Linked DNA regions of Homo sapiens: all the other regions are linked to region 1. Evidence: promoter capture Hi-C in 16 types of primary human blood cells and fetal thymus (Javierre and others, 2016). All regions are on one chromosome and are shown on one strand. The core of a region is centred on a gene start or on the middle of the fragment in contact, and the rest is flanking DNA. Distances in the headings are between cores, read along the strand shown.

Region 1 (3,783 bases), core at 469-2,968:
GCCCCAGAAAGTTGACCCAGAAAGTGGATCTGAGCTATTCCTGTTCGAATTTCACAAGTACCCTGGGTCACACTGTGGAGATGAGAGTCAGAGAGATTATGTGACATGCCAAAATCATTCAGCCTCTAAGTGGTGGAGCACAACTTTGCTTCAATCCCATAGGCTAGGAAGAGCATGCTTTGTCTACCAGGACAGAGTCCCCTGCTACCATCAATTGTCCCTTCATCTGTCTGAGATCCTTGCCTACTGTGTATCCCCTCAAGGCAAGACCACAGTCTACTCATCTTTATCTGTCTGGGTCCAACACGGTGTCTGGCACAGACAGAGCACCTCAGGAAACAAATCTCAGTCCATTTTCACCAAGGTCCCAGGAACAGGGCAAGGGCAGGCTCCACTCCGTGGAGAGAAGACATCTCAAGGAAGTAACTGGCTTTGTGAGGAGCAGAAACTAAGGTTCCAAGTTATCCTCAGCTCCCCAGCTTGGGTCTGGAATAGATGGAGGAGGGAGCTGACCAGTTTTGACACATGTATTCCTCACACGAAACCTGTAGGATTAAAATGATCATTTCTCACCATCAAATGCAAAACAGCTGAAGTGGAACACAAGAGCTGGAGTCAATAATACTGTATTGAATTTGGGATTTTTGCTGGAAGAGCAGATTTTGGGTGCTCTTACACATACACACACACACACACACACACATACAGAGAGACACACACACAAAAGGCTAATTATGTAAAATCATGGATGTGTTCATTTGCTTGATTATAGTAACCATTTCACTAAATACATGTATATCAAAACTTCATGTTACACCTTAAATATTACCATAAAATAAAAGAAGAAAGAAAAACAATTGAAGTGGGGCAGGTAAATTGCCTCTCTGAAGGCCACACAGCTAGTAAACAACAAAATCGAGTCATAAACCCACATCTCCAGGACTTTCTGCCATTTCGAAGAAAACACAAGTCCGCAGGAAGGGATTCTGAGGCAGAGAGAAGCACCTTTGGATTCTCCACTTCTCTGGATTATCCACACCACTGGCCTCCCTCCCCTATATGAAGGGCAAACTGGGAACTGACTTCATATTCTGGTTAACTTACCAGGAGAATTTTCTGGGGTAGAGGATCATTAGCTGGGACTGAAGACACCCTGGTCAGGGCCTACTGAGGCTGGGAAGCTCTGGTTACCACATGGAGACCCCTAGAGAGGACATCAGCCTCTCTGGACCTTAGTCAGGTGGGATCCCCAAATGCTGTGAGGGCAGCCCCCTAGGGTGGGCTTAACCCACTCAAGGGAAGCCTCAGCCACCCCCACTCTCTCCTAAGGAGGCTGGATCTGACATCTTGGGCCCCCCTTCTGTTTCCAGGTGGAAGGAGAGCCTTCTGGGCACAGCCCTCCTGCCAGGGCCCTCTCCAGAAACCTCTCACAGTCTTCCCCAGGACCCCAGATGCAATCAGAGATGGGAGCCCAGGGACAAGCGAGATGGGAAGGGGAGAGGCAGGAAAAGGATGCCAGTCAGGACAGTGCCAACTCCAGAGCTGCTGTCCAGGACCTACCTGCAGGGAAGGCGGGCACCAGCCAGCCCCAGCCAGCCTTTGTTGACTTAACAGGTGGCTCTGAGGTGGGAGAAGAGGAGGAGGAGAACACACCACTGGAAGACTGGTTCCCATTGGTCCCTGTCATGCTTAAAAAAAGGCCCAGAGAGGCAGTCTTGACACCCTAGATCCCAAGATCTCCAAGGATTTGGTGGCATACCCACTCCAGCACACAGAAGCATGAGGTTCATGACTCTCCTCTTCCTGACAGCTCTGGCAGGAGCCCTGGTCTGTGCCTGTGAGTATGGCTCTTCCCCGACACCCAACCATATAGTCCCCTGAAGACTGGGCCCTGCCTTCATTTCCCCTTCCCCTCCTCGCCAGAGGCAGTTCACCCAAGTCTGTCTCTGTAGCCCACTCCTGCCTCCCACTAGGTTCTCCACACAGGGACTCTATGGTCAGAGGAAGCCAGGAGCCCTGTGGCCCCAGCCTGGCTCTCCATTGCCTCTCCTCTCAGTCTGTGATTGGCCCACTCTGCTCCAACCACTCTGGCATTCTTTTTCCCCTCAATGAACCAAGCCATTTCCCACTGCCAAGACTTTTGCACATCCTCTTGTCTTTTCCCCTGCCCATTATTTCACCCACCCACGTCAACCTCCTTCCTACTCAATTTCCAAGTGTCCGCCCTGCTAGCTCTCTGTGTCCATGTATTTCCTCACAGCAGGCTTGCTGAAGCCCCAGAATCATTTTGGCCCCTATTTTGCATTTTCTTGCCTCCTGTATTTTTCCTTCCTAGCACTATCACAAATGTAATTAAATAATTGTTTATGTAATTATGTTAATTCCTCCAAATCCCCCATTGACTGTCAGCTTCCCCGAGCAATTACACTGTCTGTCTTCCTCACAGCTGTATCTCTAGCCTCTAACACCATGTCTGGTGCATAATGCGTGCTTCATTCATGCTTTTGGAAGAATAAAGAAATGGAGGGAAGGTCCTTCTGAGGTCATTCTATCAGGTGACAATCAGAACAACTCCTGCCCTGTCACTAGAGCAGGTGCTGTGGTCATGCCCTCGTGGTCATGCCCCTTCAACTTTCATTATGAAACTTGGACATCTAAGACATAGAAGAGAGTCAGAGAATGATTCCATTTCCATAGGGATGTTCTGAGTAGCCTAGGTCTAGGGAGGATAACAGAGAGAGGGATTTGGTTGAGATACCAAAAAGCATTTCTAGTGGGCCCCTTGTGAAGCAGAGATTTCTCTCCTGTCTGTCCACTGCCACACTCCTGAGATTAGAGGCCTGGGAATTCTAGGCAGCCCTGGCTGGATACAGCTCATGCAACTGTGCCCTACTTGACATGGTCACTGTTCCCTCCTTTGCAGATGATCCAGAGGCCGCCTCTGCCCCAGGATCGGGGAACCGTGAGTCCTTTCTCTTCCTCCTGCCCCAGTCCTGGGTGGGAGGGTTAATGACTTGGGATATGAGTGGAGGAAGTCAGAGAAGCAGAAGGGGGGTCCGGGGAAGGAGAGTTGGGAGGCCGACTTTTAGGAGACATGGAGAAGGGAGACTTCCTGAGAGACTCATGCACTGGAGAAGGACAGAGCATGGGGGAAAGGGTGGCCCTGTCTGGAAGTAGAAGTGGAGTAAGAAAAATGGGAAAGAAAAGAATACTTTTCTTGAGCAAGAGGAGGAACTTCACATTAGATGGGTTCAGAGGTTTTCATCTGCCCCACCTTCACCAACAATTTCAATTCAAAAACCTTTCACGTGGTTTCCCATTTCTCATCACGAAACTCTCACCTCCTAGCCTGACATTCAGGGTATCCATGATCTAGATCCAGGGTACTTTTCAAATATAATTTCCCTAGACTCCACTGCTTGCATTCTCCACATCAAACGTTATACATTTGTTTCATCAGACAGCATGAGTAACTTTCTACTACCCAACGTTCCTCTTCCTGGGTACCTTTTCAACCCCTACCTGTCCGTGCTCTAACAAGCTTCAAGTCCCAGCTGCTCTCTGAAGCCCTCCCTGCCTGGTGTGTATGGTGCCTCTGTCCCAGTCTCTCCTTTCATCCCTCCCTCTTCTGGGCTTCCCATATATAGCAGTTTTGTCTCTTTTCCTAGACTGTAAGCCCCTGAGAGAGAGATCTAATTCTCATTCATTTCTACTTCCCCAGCCATGTACACACTCTGGATAATTAACGGCAGAAAGATAAACTGTATTTCTGCACATCTTCAC
Region 2 (3,863 bases), core at 857-3,356, 430 kb before region 1:
TTCCCCATTGCTTGTTTTTGTTGACTTTGTCAAAGATCAGATGTCTGTAGGTGTGCAGCTTTTTTTCTGTGTTCTGTATTCTGTTCCATTGGTTTACATGTCTGTTTTTGTACTAATACCATGCTGTTTTGGTTACTGTAGCCTTATAGTATAGTTTGAAGTCAGGTAATGTGATGCCTCCAGCTTTGTTCTTTTTATTCAGGATTGCTTTGGCTATCCAGGCTGTTTTCTTGTTCCATATAAATTTTAGAATGGTTTTTTCTAGTTCTGTGAAAAATGAGATGAGTAGTCTGATAGGAATAGTGTTGAATCTGTAGATTTCTTTGGGCAGTATGGCTATTTTACCAATATTGATTCTTTCTGTTCATAAGCATGAAATATTTTTCTATTTGTGTGTGTCATCTATGATTTCTTTAAGCAGTATTTTTTAGTTCTCTTTGCAGAGATCTTTCACTTCCTTGGTTAGATGTATTCCTAGGTATTTTAGTTTTGTGTGTGGCTACTAAAAATGAGATTGCATTCTGGATTTGGCTCTCAGCTTGAATATTATTGGTGTATAGAAAAGCTACTGATTTTTGTACACTGATTCTATATTCTGAAACTTTACTGAAGTTGTTTATCAGTTCTAGGAGGCTTTTGGCAGATTCTCTGGGCTTTTCTAGATATAGGATCATATCATCTATGAAGAGATATAGTTTGACTTCTATTTCTTTTCGGATGCCTTGCATTTCTTTTTTCACCTGACTGCTTTGGGTAGCACTTCCAGTACCATGATGAATAGGAGTGATGAGAGTGGACATCCTTGTCTTGTTCCAGTTCTCAAGGAGAATCCTTCCAGTTTTTGCCCATTCAGTAGGATGATGGCTGTGGGTTTGTCATAGATGACTCTTATTATTTTGAGGTATGTTCCTTTAATGACTAGTTTCTTGAGAGTTCCTATCTTGAGGGTTCTTATCATGAAGGGATGTTGGATTTTATCAAAAGCTGTGATGATCATACGGTTTTCAGTTTTAATTCTGTTTATGTGGTGAATCACACTTATTGATTTGCACATGTTGAACCAAACTTGCATTCCGACAACGAAGCCCACTCGTTCATGGTGAATTAGCTTTTTAACATGCTGTTAAATTCAGTTTTCCAGTAATCTGTTGAGGAATTTTGCATCTATATTCATCAGTGATATTGGCCTGTTAGTTTCTGTTTTTCACTGTGTTTTTGCCAGATTTTGGTATCAGGATGATGCTGGCTTCATAGAATGAGTCAGAGAGGAGTTCCTCCTCCTTGATTTTTTGGAATAGTTTTGGTAGAATTGGTACCAGCTCTTCTTTGTACATCTGGTAGAATTTGACTATGACTGTATCTGGTCTGGGGCTTTTTTTGGTTACTAGGTTTTTCATTACTGATTCGATTTTGGAACTCAATATTTGTGTGTTCAGTGTTTCAGTTTCTTCCTGATTCAATCTTGAAAGATTGTGTTTCAGGAATTTATCTATTTCCTCTATATTTTCTAGTTTGTGTGCATAGAGGTGTTCTTAATAGTGTTTGAGGATCTTTTGCATTTCTGGGGCATCGGTTGTAATGTCAACTTTGTTGTTTCTGATTGCGCTTTAAAAATTATCTTTAAATTAGGTAATTTGTACCATGCCTGGAGTAAAAAGCCAATTGAAAGACATAGAAAAGTAATAATATAAAATAATGTAACTAATGTATCAACTAATTAATAGGTGTCTATTAAATTTAAAATCTAAATATGCTGTATCATTTGCTTTAAGAAAAATAACTATAAGATATATGCAGATATATTTAATGTTAACAGCAAATATCTCTGGAAAATAAGCTTACACATATAATTCAGATTTTAGATTTTGAATAGAAGCAGTTTTTACTATGCAAGAAACTACTTATTTGATAGTATAGCAATTAAAAGTATGAGTTATTTAAAGAGCTGATGAAAGTTATAGACTTGATCCCTCTGAGGCAGATTCACCCATGATATTCTATACATAAATATAGATCTGTAGATTAAAAGATAGGACTCGTATATGTAGCTAGTTTAATAAATATTTAAGCTGCAAGTATAGAGATAATACAGACCAGATACCAAGGTGGATGTTATATCATAATGTAAAATCCACAGAGATGATGGGTAAACACCTATTTTAAAGTTTATAACACATCACATGCAGCAAGCTCTGCAATAGAAGAGTGGGTGCAAGATTTAGTTTAGTCTTCCTTTGCATAGGAATTCTTCTCTCCCATCTCTCTAACCTTTCATAATTGAAGTGGAGAAATGAAGAAAGAGGATAGGGAAATTCAGATTTGAAGATACTGTTATTATGATATACCGTCATAGCTCTCTTGCTAGGAAAAGCTTGAAAATTGACTATTTTACTAATGAGTTTTTGCAGGTTCTTCAAAAATTCTCCCCAATTCCTGAGTCTCTCTCCCCAATGGTTCCCTTGGTGAGAATAACTACTCAGAATTTCTATTCGTTATTTAGTTTTGCCTCAGCACTTAGAAACCCCACAGTATCACCAATTTCTCTCCACTGATATCTAGCATGTGCTAGGACTGCCTTTGGAATAGAATATTACAATAAAAATCCATTTCCACATCCTGAAACACTAGCTTCATCTAATATTTATATGCTCTGTGTGTAACACATGAAATCAAGAGTCTCAACTCAATTTAATCTGCATTTTTAAAATAAGAATGATAGCAAATTTCAGAAACTATCTTAGAAATTGATGATTCTTGCATAAATAATGAAATTGAGGAATAAATTAAGAAGTTCTTTGAAACCAATGAGAACAAAGAAATAACGTACCAGAATCTCTGGGATGCAACTAAAGCAGTGTTAAGAGAGAAATTTATAGCAGTAAATGCCCACATCAGAAAGCTAGAAAGATCTCAAATTGACACCTAACATCACAACTAAAAGAACTAGAGAAACAAGAGCACACAGATCCACAACCATCTGATCTTCAACAAACCTGACAAAAACAAACAATGGGGAAAGGATTCCTTATTTAATAAATGGTGCTGGGAAAACTGGCTAACCATATGCAGAAAATTGAAACTGGATCCCTTCCTTACACCTTATACAAAAATTAACTCAAGATGGATTAAAGACTTAAATGTAAAACCCAAAACTATAAAAACCCTAGAAGAAAATCTAAGCAATACCATTTAGGGCATAGGCATGGGCAAAGACTTCATGACAAAATTGCCAAAAGCAATTGCAACAAAAGTAAAAATTGACAGATGGGATCTAATTAAACTAAGGAGCTTCTGCACAGCAAAAGAAACTATCATCAGAGAAAAGAGGCAACCCATAGAGTGGGAAAAAATTTTTGTAATCTATCTATCTGACAAAAGTCCAATATCCAGAATCTACAAGGAATTTAAACAAATTTACATTAAAAAAAACCATTAAATGTGGGCAAATGACATGAACAGACACTTCTCAAAAGAAGACTTTCATGTGGTCAGTAAACACGAAAAAAAAAACTCAACATCACTGATCATTAGAGAAATGCAAATCAAAACCACAATGAGATGCCACCATCTCACTCCAGTCAGAATGGCAATTATAAAATGTCAAGAAACAACAGATGCTGGCAAGGATGCAGAGAAATAGAATGCTTTTACACTGTTGGTGGGAATGTAAATTAGTTCAACCGTTGGAGAAGATGGCGTGGTGATTCCTCAAAGATCTAGAACCCGAAATGCCATTTGAACTAGCAATCCCATTACTGAGTACATACTCAAAAGTAATATAAATCATCCTACTACAAAGATAAATGCATGCATATGTTCATTGCAGCACTACTCACAATAGCAAAGACATGGAATCAACCCAA
Region 3 (4,182 bases), core at 235-2,734, 460 kb before region 1:
ACTATGAAAAATCTGATGCTTCTGAGTACATGATTTCTCTTTCTCCTCTTTCATACTATAAGAAAGGCCCATAGAAATATACAAATGATGGAAAATTCAGATGTAAAACTGTGCTTCACGTACTGACAACACGAACTTAATGGTGCTTAAAGTTATGACCCTAGCTGAACCCTCAATCTCACTCAACAGGTGCTACAGAAAAAGCAACACACAATATGTTGAGAGTTAGTCAGCTAAAAACTGTTCCTGAATGTGCTAATCTACCTAAGAGTTTGATAAGAATAAAGTGTGTTTTGAGTCAGAAATACTTTCTCAGCAAACATATTGATATATCTTCACTTATAGAACTACACAGTAGTCTGTTTATCAAATGAAGCTGTTCTTCATTAGCTTATAAAGACTAGAAAAGCATTTTTAATATGAGAGAACTGTAAAATTTTCTAGAAATACTTCATGCAAAATGTTCTACATTTGTTGGCTTGCTTAAAATAAGCTTCCGACACTTGATAAAACTTACTTAAGGAGAAAAATAATTTAGCTAAATTTGTAATGGTTTTGGTTATTAGGCTTCACGACAGGTGGCAATGTAGTGCAAGTTGTTAGAGAAGAGTACGAAGTAAACTTCAGTATTCTCAAAAAAATGGGATTTATATTTGATATATTAATGTGGTAAAAAAAAAACCTTGTGTAAGCTGACAATTTTGGCTTAGAAACAATGTTATTTCTTCTGCCTGCTCTTATCAGTTTTAAAAATAATGTGAAAATAATAATTTCATTTATACAAGATTTAGGTTCATTTTCTCACACAAAGCCTAATCAACTTAAATTTCTTTAATTACCTTTACTAGATTTTATAATAAGTAAGTTCTCACTTTCACATAAATGATATAATAAGCGGGAATTTATAATTAAATCAATTAAAAGCTCAACTGAAGCAAAGTATAATATCTGGTTACTTTTAACAAGTATTTCCTCTTATAAACATATTTACTTCTTATAATGCTGATTATGATGAAAATTTAATAATTCTACTTACACTACTTGGAAAAACATTTAAATACCATATCCATGCATGACAAAATGCTCAGTCTTCAAATATAGGTTTAATATATACATGGACTTCTTTTATTACATAGAATATAAACTGGCCATCATTTAATATGTGGAAAAGAATATGTAGGATTTGGGATGCATTAGTATCATTTTCATATTTAACACTTTACGGCATATCTGAAAAGTCATGCCTGACTATGGGAGCATGTGTATGGAAGAAAATAAAGGGAATAACACCAATTTAAAATTGTCTGGTTGTGTCAACACATTATAAAATATAAAAGACAACTTTTTTGTTATAGTATGTTGTAGAAGGTTTGGAGGTAGACTTTCAAAAAATGAGTATGAGAAAAAACAATAAAATGTTTACAATTTTGGCCATTGTTGGGTGCCTCATGTTTTATTTATATACCGGGGAAAATCTTTTGAATCCTCTCATGCAACATGTTACACAGATGGTAACATGACAAACTGATTTTTGAGTACATAGTCTACCCTAAAACAAGTTAATTGGTTCACAGAGTGCAGACGCTCTTTATAGTGTCAAAATAATCTCACTCGAGAACTATTAACATTGTGTACTTTTCTATGTATTGAAAACAGTTTTTAATTTTGTCTATTCTGAATAAGCTAGAATTTCTAATTATCAGTTTTTGCTTCTCTGTTTATTTTCACTCTAGCCTGAAACTATAACCATTTTTAATGGTTAGTGTTCATATCTTGTCTCTTCTATCAACTCTTCCCAAATTCAAGCCACAAATTCAGAATAATGAAACTCTTTTGGTGTCTCTTTCCCAAACAGCATCCACAAAAACTTTCCCAGAGAGCATTTACAAAGATCTTTGCCGTAACATTATAACAGAAGAAATCCATGAGATTCTCCATATTTATAATGGTATCAGAGTAAATGTGGGATCAGGAAAGCATTCATAGTAGTCAATTGGTGGGACCTGGCATAGGATATCAGAGCATGGTTGAGTTGTAGATGGTTTCCATATAGCAGAAAGGCCCAAGGCAGAGTGTTGGATAGTGGTCAGGATGCAAAGGGTATTTACACAGGTTTATACTAGCAGCAGCCCAGCAACAGGTGCAGAAGCCAGATTAGGATAAAAAGAACAATCATGTAGGGGAAAGAGAGACAGCAGTAATGAGAGTATAGAGAAAATATAAAGCGGAATTAGTCAAAAAGTAAATATATTAAACATAATGAGTATTGGAGAGGGAGTTTGCAATATGCAAATTGAGAAACCAGAATAAACTCTGTACTGTTGGATTGGAATTTATAGTGTCAGAATAGATTCACTGTAATAGTCCATTCTCATGCTGCTATAAAGAACTACCTGAGACTGGGTAACTTATAAAAGAGGTTTAATTGGCTCATGGTTCTGCTGGCTGTACTGGTAGCATGGCTGGGGAAGCTTCAGGAAACTTTCAATCATGGCAGAAGGTAAAGGGGAAGCAGGCACATCTTCACATGGTGGAGCAGGAGAGAGAGAGAGAAGGCGGGAGGTGCTACACATTTTTAAACAACCAGATCTTATGAGAACTCACTCACTATCACTAGAACAGCAAGGAGTAAGTTTGCCCCCATGGTACAATCACCTTCCATCAGGTACCGCCTCCACCATGGGGGATTACAAGTCAACATGAGCTTTGGGTGGGGACAGAAATCCAAACCATATCACTCATCATTTTCAATATGTAATAGATATAGAAATGTAGGTGCAAATGATGGTATGTATGCATACATGAATGAGTGCACATATGAATGTATGTGGATGTGTACATATACATATATACATATGTATGTCTGCCAACTAAGAGACCTACCAGCACCTAAATAGCAGTAACATTGAACACACATCACCCATGTCTTGATTTCTAAATACACTTCTCCACTAAAAGGAACCAGGGATCCTTGGAGAAATGCGTAATTTCATATCAGATAGGCAAAGAACACAAAAATCTGTTCTGTTGTTTTGTGTCAAAAAGTATAAAGTGTTAAAAGAATGTTGGAGATAAGTCAAAAAAACACAGAAGCTAGCTCAAAGAAACTCCCACTGGCTAAACTGGGGATAATCTGAGCATCAAAATAAACAATGTCAATAATGTATTATAACACATTAAATAAAGTAGAAAACCATGAGTTCACGCTTATATAAATAAATAAATTTTTCAAAACTTAGAAAACTAGAATACCTACATGGTCTCACAATGTTTAATAAAAATACTTACTAATTACAAAAAGAGAAAGTAAATTTACAGAGGAGAAAGAGAGCAGATACTATTTTAATCAAATGGGTTTGGGACAGATTGGCATTGTGTGCCACTGAGATAACATATTGTAAGCATGGTTCACTACACTTGTTTGATAATCCTGACAAGGATACGTACCTGAATTTAATCATTAAGAAAATCAGAAAAACACAATTTGAGGGGCGTTCTACCCAATAACTGGCCTGAAATCATCAAGAATATAAAGAGAAAAAAATCAAGGAGTATCAAAGAAAGACTGATGAACTGTTCTATATTTAAGGAGACTTACATACACAACTGGATGCAAAATGTGACTCTAAACTTTCCATATTACCATTCCTTTTACTATCAATGAGGCCTTTGGAACAACTGGTCAATTCGGAGGCTTAAACGATGGTAAAGCAATCCTGATTCTGAGTATTGAAATATGATTATGAGGAGAATGTCTTTGGTGGTAGGAATTACACATCAAAGTATCTGGGAAAGATGGATCATTATGTTGGCAACTTACTCTCAAATGGTTTATTTTAAAAGTTTTTTCTTGGAGGAGGAGCCAAGATGGCCGAATAGGAACAGCTCCGGTCTACAGCTCCCAGCGTGAGCGACGCAGAAGACGGGTGATTTCTGCATTTCCATCTGAGGTACCGGGTTCATCTCACTAGGGAGTGCCAGACAGTGGGCGCAGGCCAGTGTGTGTGCACACCGTGCGCGAGCCAAAGCAGGGCGAGGCATTGCCTCACCTGGGAAGCGCAAGAGGTCAGGGAGTTCCCTTTCCGAGTCAAAGAAAGGGGTGACGGACGCACCTGGAAAATCGGGTCACTCCCACCTGAATATTGCGCTTTTCAGACCGGCTTAAGAAACGGCGCACCACGA
Region 4 (3,847 bases), core at 675-3,174, 310 kb before region 1:
ACTATCTGTTTGTACTTGGTGGAACCTGTGTAAGTTGGGTAGCTACAGTCTTCTCTTTGATGTAAGATTGTCCTATGTGATAATATTACCAATAACAATATATATAGGGATTACTACATAGCAGACAGTATCTTTAGCACTTATGGATATTAAATCATTTCATCCTATGACATAAGGTCTTTCATTATTCCCCATTTTATAGATGATGATACTGGACACATTTTTATATCAAAATAAATTCTGAAGAGGGACAGTCAGATGTGAAGTGTAAGAAGAGATTAGACAAGGGGGAGGGATAGTGGGAGGACATCAAGAAATTGTGAATATTTTTCCACCTCATTTACAATTCTTACCAAGGTTGTTTTGCCTCTGTTGGGAAAATATAATTAAAAACAAAATCTCCTCCCACCCCAGGAAATCACTCCACAAAGGTGTAAAAGAAAGAAAGTTTTATTTTTGAATACCATTGAAGCAGACTATGATATGTATTACAGAACATCCACTAAACAGATTGCAAACACAGAACGAAATCTTACCCTTGTACATAGCCAGGCAGATACAACCCATTACATGGCTGTTGTCAAATAAACAATACTTTGTCCTCAAGTAAGAAGACTTAACAGAATCATTTGTCACTCACAGTTCACCCTAGACTTACCTGGTAATTGGAGTGGCCATCTGTGTCAGTCAATTGGCTTTATGCAAAGAAAAAAATAAACCTCATATTTTTAAGACAGGAAGTGGTTTTTGCAAGTTAAAACAAAGTGCTTAAGTTAGATGCCCACCTGCCCATTGAGACTGGAAGAGACAGGTGCTACCCTCCTTGATAATTACATTTCAAAGGGATGGATGTCAACCTTTGTCCATTTTTTTAATTGGATGATCTATTTGTTTGTTTTGTTATTAAGTTGAAGAAGTTTCTCATATATTTTGGAATTATCATTTATTGAAAGAAGACATACAAGTGCACAACAGGTATATCAAAAGATTCTCAGTATCACTAATCATCAAGAAAATGCAAATCAAAATCACAATGAAATATTACCTTAAACCTGTTAGGATGGCTATTAGTGAAAAGAAAGATACGTGTTCGCAAGGATGTAGAGTAACTGAAACTTCTGTACACTGTTGGTAAGAATGTAACATGGTGCAACGGCTATGGAAAAGAGTACTAAGTTTCCTCAAAAAATAAAAAGTGGAACTACCATATGATGTAGCAATCCTATTTCTGGGTAATTATCCAAAAGAATTGAAATCAGGATCTTGAAGAGATATTAGCACTCCTATTTTCACTGCAGCACTATTCCCAATGACTAAGATGTGGAAACAAACTTAATGTCCATCAGTGGATGAATAGATAAAGAAAATGAGACATATATATACAGTGAAATATTATTCAGCCTTTAAAAGAAAGGAAGCCTTGCAATATGTGATGGCATGGATAATCCTGTGGACATCATCTCTCTATATAAGACTTATATGAGACAATATTTCTGAAAATGCTATACAGTATAATTACTAGAGGCTCTTTCTACCAGAAGGACTGTGTAAAGTGGTGTGGATGAAGCCAGGACCTCCTCTTCTCTGCACATCCTCAAAAGCAATTCTTACATTGCTTTCTATGTGAATGTTGACACCTGATGTTGTGTGCCTTGGCAGCCTTGGAAGTAATCTTGGTGATCCATTTGAACTACAACTTAGAAAATGGGGATTAAGCAATGCAGATAAAGATTATCTTTCTGCCTTCCACAGCCAAAGAAAGAATGAGACAGTATAGATAAAGGGAAGACTGAGGAAGAGAAAAGAAGATACAGAAGTGTTATTTTGTCTGTGGTTTTGCATTTTGTGATTTCATTTACCTGAAATCCATTTTATACTTGAATGGGCTCAAGAAAAGGACTTAGCAAGATCATGCAACTAGTTAGTGTCAGAGCCAGAACTAAGGCCCAGGTCTCCTGAGATCCAAGCCAAGGCCGTTTCCATCAGAGCATATGGCCCTGATTGAGCAGAAGTTTAGGCTGTTACTGTGGATCAGGGCAAGCCTCGCTACCTGTACTTGGATCTGAGCTTCATTTACTGTGTGCCTTGACCCTTTATGCTAAGTACCAATACTCTCACTACCTTTGTCACCACTGAAATGTACTTGCCTTCTTATAAAGTCACCAGCAAGAGAAGCATTATACAGAATAAGCAGAAATGTTCACAGGATGCTTTGAGCTCATAGTTTAGTGAAAAACATGACAAGAGAATCAGTAATTATTAATAATTTTCATTAAATGCCATAGGGACCAGAAATTAACCTTTCAGAAGATGGCATTACTTTTTTTAACGATGTGTGTTGGCAAAGATGTAGAGAAGGTAGGCCGGGCACGGTGGCTCACGCCTGTAATCCCAGCACTTTGGGAGGCCGAGGCGGGCAGATCACGAGGTCAGGAGATTGAGAGCATCCTGGCTAACACGGTGAAACCCCGTCTCTACTAAAAATACAAAAAAAATTAGCCAGGCGTAGTGGCGGGTCCCTGTAGTCCCAGCTACTCGGGAGGCTTGAGGCAGGAGAATGGCGTGAACCCGGGAGGCGGAGCTTGCAGTGAGCTGTGATCGTGCCACTGCACTCTAGCGTGGGCGACAGAGCGAGACTCCGTCTCAAAAAAAAAAAAAGTAAATAAAAAAAGATGTAGAGAAGGTAAGTCTGGACAGATGTGTCCAACATTGAACAGGGAGAAGGTGGCTGAGGAGAGTAGAAAAAGGAAAAGCAGAATATTGATATTCTAGGCAGAGAGAAAGGTAAGTTCAAAGACAGATGAATGGAATACCACAATATCTTATGGAAACTACACCTTATGCCTAGTGGGAGAAAGGGGATGTGCTGGAGAAAGATCAAAACTGAAAATAAGAAAGATAAATAGAAAGGAAGTTATAAAACAGAGTCTCCTATGTTATTTTAAGTGTTTTGGTTTAGTCTAAGGTAGGAATCCACTGAAAAATTTACAAAGGAAGTGATGTGATTAGATTTGTCTTTTAGAAAGATTATTCTGGTAGAAGTATGGGAGATGGACTGGGTAGGAAGCCGGCAGAGTAAGGAAAATAATTTAAGAATCTACTGCAGAAACCTAGGGAGAAATGTGATGATCAGAAACAAGCTGAAGGCAGTGGGAATAGAGGGGAGGACGAGTGAGATTTTGAGATATTCAGGAGGTAAAATATCTAAGCCAGGACCGATTAGACTTGTGTTTGGGGAAGAAAAATGGAATAAGGAACAGAAAGAAAGATAGGGCATACAGGTTTCCTCTTGGGCAACTAAATGGATGTAAATATCATTTTATTAAGAATGAAGTAAAAATAGGAATAACAATTTGGAAGGCAAATATATTAAAGTATAATTTTCAAAAAGGTAAAATAATGACTCTCATGCAAATGTAGATAAACATGTTCAAAGACTTTACTCAATTCATTAATTACTGAAGGCACCAGCAATATGCTTGACCTGGTCCAAAGACTATTTGAGAAGTCAGTTTATACAGAGAGAGAATTTAACAGATTGCCATATTAGATACAAAACTGGTTAATATCCAATAACAGCATAAACTTTATCTCTGGGATTACTGGTTCCACTGGATGGAAATTATTTGCATCTCTACCCAACATAAATCACTAAGGTAATCTCTGCTCTTGCAAAACTATAAAATAGCAGTGTAAATAGAAAGTCAAGATTAACACTGTACTGAAAGAGTATCTAGTCATCTTGTTTGACTATTTAGAAAAAGCTGATGAGTTCATATCTGAACATGGTGAGTGTAAGGTACTTCTAAAATACTGTGATAAAGAGGTTCATGTCTTCATTGGTTTC
Region 5 (4,091 bases), core at 430-2,929, 400 kb before region 1:
TAGTCCTCAGATGGCCACACAGTTATACAGAAAACTTTAAAACTTGAAATCATTATAGTGCCAATGAAAAAGCAAATAATAAACCTGGACTGATAGTCAAATAAGATTAATGATTCGATAAGGATTATAAACCTATCGTGTATCAGAACCAGGGTTTCACTATAAGGGTACAAATCCAATTCCACTTCTCCAGGTTTACAAAGAACCAATATGACAATAAAGATCCTTTAAAAAAATCTCAAGTTAAAAAGACATATATGATGTTCGGAATAAAGATCCTATATTCAAACTTGTACACAAAATAATACTATGGCCATAAATATTGCCCAGTAAAAAGGGGGCTGATTATAAGCCAAGGTTTATGAAAGAAGATAAAAAAGGAAGAGTTAGGTGCTGTTTGGTGAAGATGTAGTTATTCTAACAAGTAGCAGAGAGAAGGCAGAATTCCACTTCTGACTGACCCAGTACAGAAAGCAGTCTGGAAAATACAGGAAAATAAATATTTTGAAGGTGAACTTCGAAGCTCATAAGGAGAAAAGATTATCAGAGAGCACTGAGTTGGGTTAAGTAAACTTAAGCCTCTCGAAACAGTAGTGCCAAATAAAGATGAAAATCTGATTGGCGATGTGCTTGCTCTTCATAACATGGGTCCCTAACCCCTGGGCCGTGGGCCAGTCCCCATCCTTGGCCTGTTAGGAACTGGGCCGCGCAACAGGAGGTGAGCTGTGGACGCTTGAGCTTTATGGCCTCAGCTCCACCACCCGTCAGATCAGCAGCCGCATTAGCTTCTCATAGTACCACGAACCCTATCGTGAACTGCGCATGCGAGGGATCCAGATTGCACGCTCCCTACGAGGAGCTAATGCCTTTCCCCAGTACCTTCACCCCCCACTCTCCACCCCGCATGGAAAAATTGTCTTTCACCTTCCACGAAACTGGTCCCTGGTGCCAAAAAGGTTGGGAATCGCTGCTTTATAATATTTAGGAAACTTTTGAGATAAGAAAATGTTACCATGCTTTTCAGTAGAAGAAAAATTCTGCAATCTGTACATAATGAGCTTGACTTTATTCTGTAACAATGTTGAAAAATGGATGACGCAGCTAACGGTTCCTGTTTTCTATCTTATTCAGTGTGTTTCTCAGTGCAGCTATTGCAAATTCAGATGTATTGGGATTTAAGTCCACAACAGCCACTTTTTATTTTATTTGCCCAGACTTCATAGAAAATAAACACAGCTACAAGTTTGAGGATTTTTTATTTTCATAACAGGTCTAAATAATTTAAACAATGATGGATCAGATTAACACAGTTCATTAAAATTTGTGTGTAGGACAACTCCCAAGTAAGAAAAAATATTCTCTAGAAAAAAATGAATAATTTACAATACCTTGTAAACTTTGAGGTCATTGCAAGCTTTGATTAAACGTTACTCTGGCAGGCATTATTGGTTGCCTACCCGGTTGTCATTCCCATTTCCCTTATTCTCAATCACTGGAGGCTGCCTCAGGTGATACGGAGTGAAAAATACAAAGTATTCATGTTGCTAGTCTTGCTTTCATCTGCGGATGCACAAATTCCAGTCAATCCCACACTGATTTTTTTAACTAATTAAAAGAGAGAAATAAAGAGGAAGAATGACACCACCAAGAAAAGCAGGTTCACCACCTACACCCACTTTCCTTCCTGATATTGTGTAGAATTGTGGAGGACATGGTGTTTAGACCTAGGTCAGCTATCTTTTTGATCATCCTAGCAACAAAGATTTGATGAAGACTTAGCATGTATCAAGCACTTTGATTATTGGGGATTAGAGACAAAGAATTAGGTCAGGGAGGGGATTATGGTTCATTAGCTTCAGGAAACTGGTAATTATTTTTGTGTGTCTAAAATCTATGAGATTCAGTCAATGGCATGGCTAAACATATAAACAAAGAGTAAGCTTTGGCATATGCTGAAAGAATAAACACACACATACATGCAGACACAAAGCCATTCTCATATGCACACACACCTATTGAATCAAGAGTTTTGGGATCTATCTGAAGGCCGAGGTCCATTCTTGTTAAAGCAGTGAGGGGGGAGAAAAGGATTTATGTCAGCTTTGACGGGGGGAATGGATCCTGCAGGCCTTTCATAAGAAACTTGTTTTTCTCCTTCTTAGCAAAATTCATTCCCATAAGTTTCTGGGGTATTTTTCCCCCTGGCAAACGTGGATAAGGAGTAATTTGTGTTGTGTCTAATAAACTCTATGAAAGTTCCTCAAAGTGACTCAGTGGCAAATTTTCCAGTGAGCAGTGCATCAAGGCATGATATTAAGTGAGGATTACCATTCTCTCTCCATTTGCCCAGGTCAGGGAAAGCAGTCACCTCTCTCCTCTCCCAGTGCCATCCCAGAATCACCTATAGTGATTCAATTCAGGATCTAGGAGTCAGAGACCAATCGGCTGAATTTAAACACAACTTATTATGTATAAACTTTTGAGGACTAGACTCATTAGTGTAAAATCTGGAAGTCATTTATATTAGAGTATAATTCATGAAATTTACTGGTTTTTTTTTTTTTGTTTTTTTTTTTTTTTGAGACTAAGTCTCGCTCTGTCGCCCAGGCTGAAGTGCAGGGGCCTGATCTCGGTTCATTGCAAGCTCCACCTCCCGGGTTCATGCCATTCTCCTGCCTCAGCCTCCAGAGTAGCTGGGACTACAGGCGCCCGCCACCACACTCAGCTAATTTTTTGTATTTTTAGTAGATACGGGGTTTCACCGTGTTAGCCAGGATGGTCTCGATCTCCTGACCTCGTGATCCGCCCTCCTTGGCCTCCCAAAGTGTTGGGATTACAGGCGTGAGCCACCATGCCCAGCCGGGTTTTTTTTTTTTTTTTTATAGCAGTGTGTAGAGGGAAATTTATAGCACTAAATGCCCACAAGAGAAAGCAGGAAAGATCCAAAATTGACACCCTAACATCACAATTAAAAGAACTAGAAAAGCAAGAGCAAACACATTCAAAAGCTAGCAGAAGGCAAGAAATAACTAAAATCAGAGCAGAACTGAAGGAAATAGAGGCACAAAAAATCCTTCAAAAAATTAATGAATCCAGGAGCTGGTTTTTTGAAAGGACCAGCCGGGTTTTTTTTAATGTAGCTCATCAAGATTGAAAACCATCATGAGATGATACAGTTAACTGGTAACAGAATAGCTTCTAGGTGTTTCTTTTTTTTCTTTTTGAGACTGAGTCTCGCTCTGTCGCCAGGCTGCAGTGCAGTGGCACGATCTCAGCTCACTGCAACCTCCACTTCCCAGGTTCAAGTGATTTTCCTGCCTCAGCCTCCCGAGTAGTTGGGACTACAGGCATGCACAACGTGTCCAGCTAATTTTTGTGTGTTTTTTTTTTATAGAGATGGGGTTTCACCATGTTGGCAAGGATGGTCTAGGTCTCCTGACCTCTTGATCCACCTGCCTCGGCCTCCCAAAGTGCTGGGATTACAGGCATGAGCCACCACGCCCAGCCTGGGTGTTTCTTCTGCCTCAGGAATATGGGCCAAGCATAGAAGAGAGAATATTATTTGAATTAAAGATTATGCTCAGGAAGAGAGTAGGTGATACAGTGACACCAGGATAAAAAAAAATGAGAGTTCTTGAGCTAATCCTAATTCTGAAAGATTATTGAAATTCTTCAGAACTAACAGGGAATTTAAAAAACTCTAGCAGGATATGCATGTCCCAGTTGTCCACAATGCTCTACCTAATCTAACTCATCCTTCTTTCTCACAAGATCTTAACCAGTGGAAGAGAAAGGAGGGAGAAGCAAGAGGGTGAGAAGGGGGAACACTCACTGTGTCCATGTTACCTGTTACATGTAACCCCTTTTAATTCTGATTTTTAAGTAATCTGTAGGAAAGTTTATTGTTATCATTATTTTACAAATAAGAAACTAAAACCTAGATATATTGAGTGAATTTTCCCAAGATCACACAGAGCAAAAGGAAGGAAAATCCAAAGGCACACAGCAATATTCTTTTCACCAATCACGCCTAAGAGGAAGAATGACACCACTGACCCTACTCCTCATTCCACCAACCCCTAGCTCTCCAA
Region 6 (4,106 bases), core at 467-2,966, 330 kb before region 1:
ACCTGGAGAGTTTCAGCCCCACTCCTATTTGCTCAGTGTGGTGGGATGCAAGTGTGGCCAGCTGGGGAGAGGCAGCAGGACAGAGTATGAGCCAATGAATATTACATTAGCTTCAAGCTTTTTTAAGCTCTATTTGGACAATTGAATGATTCTTCCCCTCTGTTCCTCTTTGAATGTGTATCTAGTGCCATCATTGTGTCTCTTGGAAAAATACATCAATATTTGGTAATGTTACATGAAATATGAATCGACAGGATTAGTAATTGCATTGATGAGCTGAGGAATAAATTCATAGTTAGGTAGAAGCACAAGTTGACAAATTAGAAAGTCATTATCCTGAAGGTGCTGGCTGCTAATTGCTTAAGGCAGTGTCTCTCTGCTTTTAATCACAGGGTATTTTTTTTTTTCTGAGAGAAATCATATGTGGACTCCTAATATATAAAACAGGAACATAAAAAATCAAGACAAAAACTAAACAAACAAAACCCAGAATTCCTATAGTTGGAGTGACATCCTGGTTGTGGGACCTTAGAAAATCTGTTTTACCTTTGAGACCCTAAATTTTTTCATATGTCTTGATGAGGATTAAAAAATGAAGTGAATTTTATAAGTTGTAAACTTAAAGATGTTTTAGTCATAATGGAAGATTCTGGTAGACAACATTCTTAAGGATTAAAGAAAAAATGTTTTCTAATACAGCATTTCGATTACCCTGAGAAATAGAGATTCTTTAAGTCAGAAGAGTTTTCTTAATGTCCATTAAATCATGATGTTTGAAGCTTTCAAACTTTCTGGCTTGAAAGACTTATCCCGGTATTTAGAGTTTTCAGAGCATTCCTTTTTTGCAGGAGAGACAGAAAATGAGCTAGGCATGTCCTCCCTGCTTTTGAATGGTCAGAGAGACCAAGCTCCTTTGGGCAGACACAGGAAAATTCAGGGGGCAACCCTGAGCATCATGATGGTTTCTGAGCATATGATGAGGGAGTATCACTGTTTTTCAACTCTTAGGACGGCATTACTGTTACGGGAGGCCCTGAAGTCTGAGCCAGGGCCATGGAGGCCTCTGTGCTGAGCCCCACATCCTGGGAGAAACGGCGGGCCTGGCTCCGTCAGAGCCGTAACTGGCAGACCCAGGTCCTAGAAGAGGAGGCTGCCGCCGCCCTGCAGGATGTCCCAGATCCTGAGCCTTCCAGCCTGGATGACGTTTTCCAAGAAGGTAAGAGACGAACATCAGACAGGCGTCTATGTTGTCTGGCGGCAAAAGGTGACAGCAGGCCCAGGTCTGCAGAGTGTGAACAGGTTCCTTGTTTAGCCAGGCCCTCAGGGAGGACTGTTTTGACTGGTTTAAATATGTTTAGGAGAAAAGCTAAAGTAATACGAAATATGAATTATGTGAGAAAGAGACAGGCATAAGATTAGGAAAAAGGGAAGGGCACATTTTTGCATCATCCTGAGAAGCTTCTGTAAGAACCTGAGGCTGGGGGCTCTCTATGAATGCTTTGGGGTGTTTCTATTTTGTCTGTGTAACAAGACCACACCCAAGCTGGATGCCTGGACTCTGGCCACAATGCTGTCACTAACAAGCTGTGTGGCCTTTGGGAAGTCACTCACCTCTCTAAGACTTATTTGTCCAATTGAAGTAGTAGTACCTTTCCTACACTTCTCAGAGCTTCTTTGAGGTTCAGATGAGACCACAGTCATAAGAGTAAAACAAAAATTCTGATGGAAATAAATGCTTATTTGGTAGGAAGCAAAAAGCACAAAAACAAGATTGTCTTTCTTTTTCTTTTTCTTTTTAAATGAGAAGGATCCACCCTTGTGGGAAAGGAACTCTCAAAAGACAGCAGTGGGCCTGACATCTTGGGCACTTTCCAGGTTCTTGGGAGGAAGGGAGAAAAGAAGCAGAGAGAGAGAAGAAATATCTACTATTTTTATATACGGTGTATTCCTCTCATATCTTAAAGAAAAGCTTTATGTAGAAAAAAAGATTCATGACGCAGCTTATGTAAGAATAAACTTGTGGAATGGAATTAGTTGCAGGGAGGAGGTCTGATTTCGTTCAGTTCTCACAGTGATCTAGTGTCTGACTTTTCTAGGGAATCCAATCAATAAAATTGAAGACTGGCTGCAGGATTGCGGGTAAGTGCTGGACAGGCAATGGGGTGGTATGTGGCTGATGGTTGAATTTGCTAACAGACACAACTCCTGGAAACTCAGAGACGGGAAGATGGATTTGATTTGGGCCTAAAGATTAGAAGTAAGGTTGAGATGGTGGTTGGAGGGGTGTTGCGGGTTTAGGGTGAACTGGTGATCACAATTGTGAATCAAGTGCAACTTGGGGCTAAGACTAAATTAGGCACGAGGTCTAGGAATAGAGGTTGGGTTTGAGCTAAAGCTAAGAGTGGATGGGGAATAGTTGGGGTGAGTTCCAGACCCCTACTCCCCTGACTTCCCCCTTTAGATTGGAGTCTTACATTGTGTAACAAAAGGAATTGGAAACCTGATCATTCTTGCTGAAGAGCAATTCATCTGTGTTATTTATTTCTACTGCAGAGCACAGGAGAAGCTTAGGGTTTATGACAGTCATTCAAAGCAGGGGAGAATTGGAGCAGGCACTTCAAGGCAGTGCATTATCTCTTTCCTCAGAGATACTTTAAATTATGAGACCCCACAGCCCATCAGCCTGTACCGTTCTTAGGCTCAGTATACCCAGACACAAAAGGAAGAATTCTGTGATCTATTTAGTCTTCTGTGTAATAATGAATTCTCAGAATGGACAACTTCTGCCTGCTCCTTATTTTCCCTCCAGGAATGGCTCAAGTTTTATATAGCCTTTAATCTAAACTCATCTATTAATTGGCATAAAGAAACCCATTCTTGCTTATTTGGTAGGAAATAAATAACACCAAATAATCCAAGGTTGTTTATTTCACCTGTACCCAAGAAGGCAATGCCAGGAAGGATTTATTTTGTGTTTGTTTTGTTGTTTGAAAAAACCTATTGTTCTCATTGCCCTCATCTTATTCATAATTCATTGATTTCAAAGTCAATTAGAGGACCCACAGAATACAGGAAGAAAAGAATGGTGGTAATCAGCATGTTTGCAGGTTTGGGTGAGAAGCCTAGGATGAGAACTGTCCTAGGATTTAAAATACTTACCAGATATGTACAGGGGAAACAGTCAGCTCAGTTAATGTCCTTATCTCATTAACTACTCTTGAGTCATCAATTCATGTCAGCAATTATTAATTACGCTTTTGCTAACTGTCTGATTATCTGAATAACCTAGAGGGGTGCCAAGTAGTTTAAAATATGCTCATTGACTTAGAACATATTTCGTTCTAATTGAAAATAATAAATTCACAGAAATACAAGATAATAAACTCTAGAAATCATCTTTCTTCACTCATGCTCTACAAAGATAAACCCTGAACCAAAATTTATGACAAAAAGGTGGTCTGGTTAGTGAAAAGTCTCCAAGACTTGAGCCTAATTCTTGTGCTACTAAGTGTTTAACCAACCATAAGCTAATAACTTAAATTCTGTTCACTGTAGACGCCTGAGCTATAAAGTGGGACGCTTAAAATAATACAGTCTAAGGGTTCTCGTGAGGTTTAAATGAGATGATATATGTGTATGTGCTTTATGCTTTTAATAGTGAGTGACTGGTGAGTTTTATAAAGGAGGAGTTTATACCTACCTATAATTCCACAAAATGTCTGTCTATATCTATCCATCTATCTACATCTGTTTATTTATCAGAAAAAAAATTCCCAGAAATGATACATATTAACTCTTGGATAGTGATTACCTGGAAGAAGGAAAAGAATTGACTTTAGAAGTAAAATAAGACTTTAGTTATATCTTTAATATTTAATTTTTTATTTTACATTATATATTACTTAATATTTTATTTTTTCCGAAGCAAATATGGCAAAATGTTTACATGTGTGAAAATAGAGTGACTGGTGCAAGGGTATCTGTTACATTTTCATTATGTATCTGTGTTTTGAAAAGATTTCAAATATTTAAACTTCAAAATGGCCATAAAGAGTTAATCAACAGACTTGCATTTGTCTTTGGAAGGGGAATTGTTGGAGTCAGAA

What was found. The method cuts DNA at HindIII sites, captures the fragments that hold promoters and counts their contacts. A CHiCAGO score of 5 or more calls a contact.
Region 2: a fragment that was not itself captured here is called in contact with the fragment with the promoter of DCD in region 1 in 10 of 17 cell types (naive CD4 T cells, activated CD4 T cells, naive CD8 T cells and 7 more); the score reaches 8.5 in naive CD4 T cells.
Region 3: a fragment that was not itself captured here is called in contact with the fragment with the promoter of DCD in region 1 in 5 of 17 cell types (total CD4 T cells, activated CD4 T cells, non-activated CD4 T cells and 2 more); the score reaches 6.4 in total CD4 T cells.
Region 4: a contact is called between a fragment that was not itself captured here and the fragment with the promoter of DCD in region 1, in 1 of 17 cell types (neutrophils). The highest score is 5.1, in neutrophils.
Region 5: a fragment that was not itself captured here is called in contact with the fragment with the promoter of DCD in region 1 in 1 of 17 cell types (activated CD4 T cells); the score reaches 5.9 in activated CD4 T cells.
Region 6: a fragment that was not itself captured here is called in contact with the fragment with the promoter of DCD in region 1 in 1 of 17 cell types (M1 macrophages); the score reaches 6.0 in M1 macrophages.

The regions. Positions count from the first base shown.
Region 1 is chr12:54,646,300-54,650,082 of GRCh38, reverse strand. It overlaps DCD (dermcidin), which reads left to right and starts at 1,718. Exons shown (of 5, transcript NM_053283.4): 1 at 1,718-1,837; 2 at 2,924-2,962. The coding sequence starts at 1,780. The HindIII fragment of the contact is 3,742 bases long and covers 1-3,543 here.
Region 2 is chr12:55,075,908-55,079,770 of GRCh38, reverse strand. No RefSeq gene overlaps it. Among named protein-coding and RNA genes, the nearest start is that of OR9K2, 49 kb to the left of the region's middle. The HindIII fragment of the contact is 534 bases long and covers 1,840-2,373 here.
Region 3 is chr12:55,101,954-55,106,135 of GRCh38, reverse strand. No RefSeq gene overlaps it. Among named protein-coding and RNA genes, the nearest start is that of OR9K2, 22 kb to the left of the region's middle. RefSeq lists an enhancer at 3,487-4,182. The HindIII fragment of the contact is 1,978 bases long and covers 496-2,473 here.
Region 4 is chr12:54,952,334-54,956,180 of GRCh38, reverse strand. All of the region lies in intron 10 of TESPA1 (thymocyte expressed, positive selection associated 1), which reads left to right. Among named protein-coding and RNA genes, the nearest start is that of TESPA1, 31 kb to the left of the region's middle. The HindIII fragment of the contact is 8,424 bases long and covers 1-3,847 here.
Region 5 is chr12:55,046,594-55,050,684 of GRCh38, reverse strand. No RefSeq gene overlaps it. Among named protein-coding and RNA genes, the nearest start is that of NEUROD4, 29 kb to the right of the region's middle. The HindIII fragment of the contact is 526 bases long and covers 1,417-1,942 here.
Region 6 is chr12:54,971,510-54,975,615 of GRCh38, reverse strand. TESPA1 (thymocyte expressed, positive selection associated 1) reads left to right here. Exons shown (of 11, transcript NM_001136030.3): 2 at 1,009-1,216; 3 at 2,097-2,139. The coding sequence starts at 1,054. Among named protein-coding and RNA genes, the nearest start is that of TESPA1, 11 kb to the left of the region's middle. RefSeq lists enhancers at 590-1,099, 1,100-1,611. The HindIII fragment of the contact is 511 bases long and covers 1,461-1,971 here.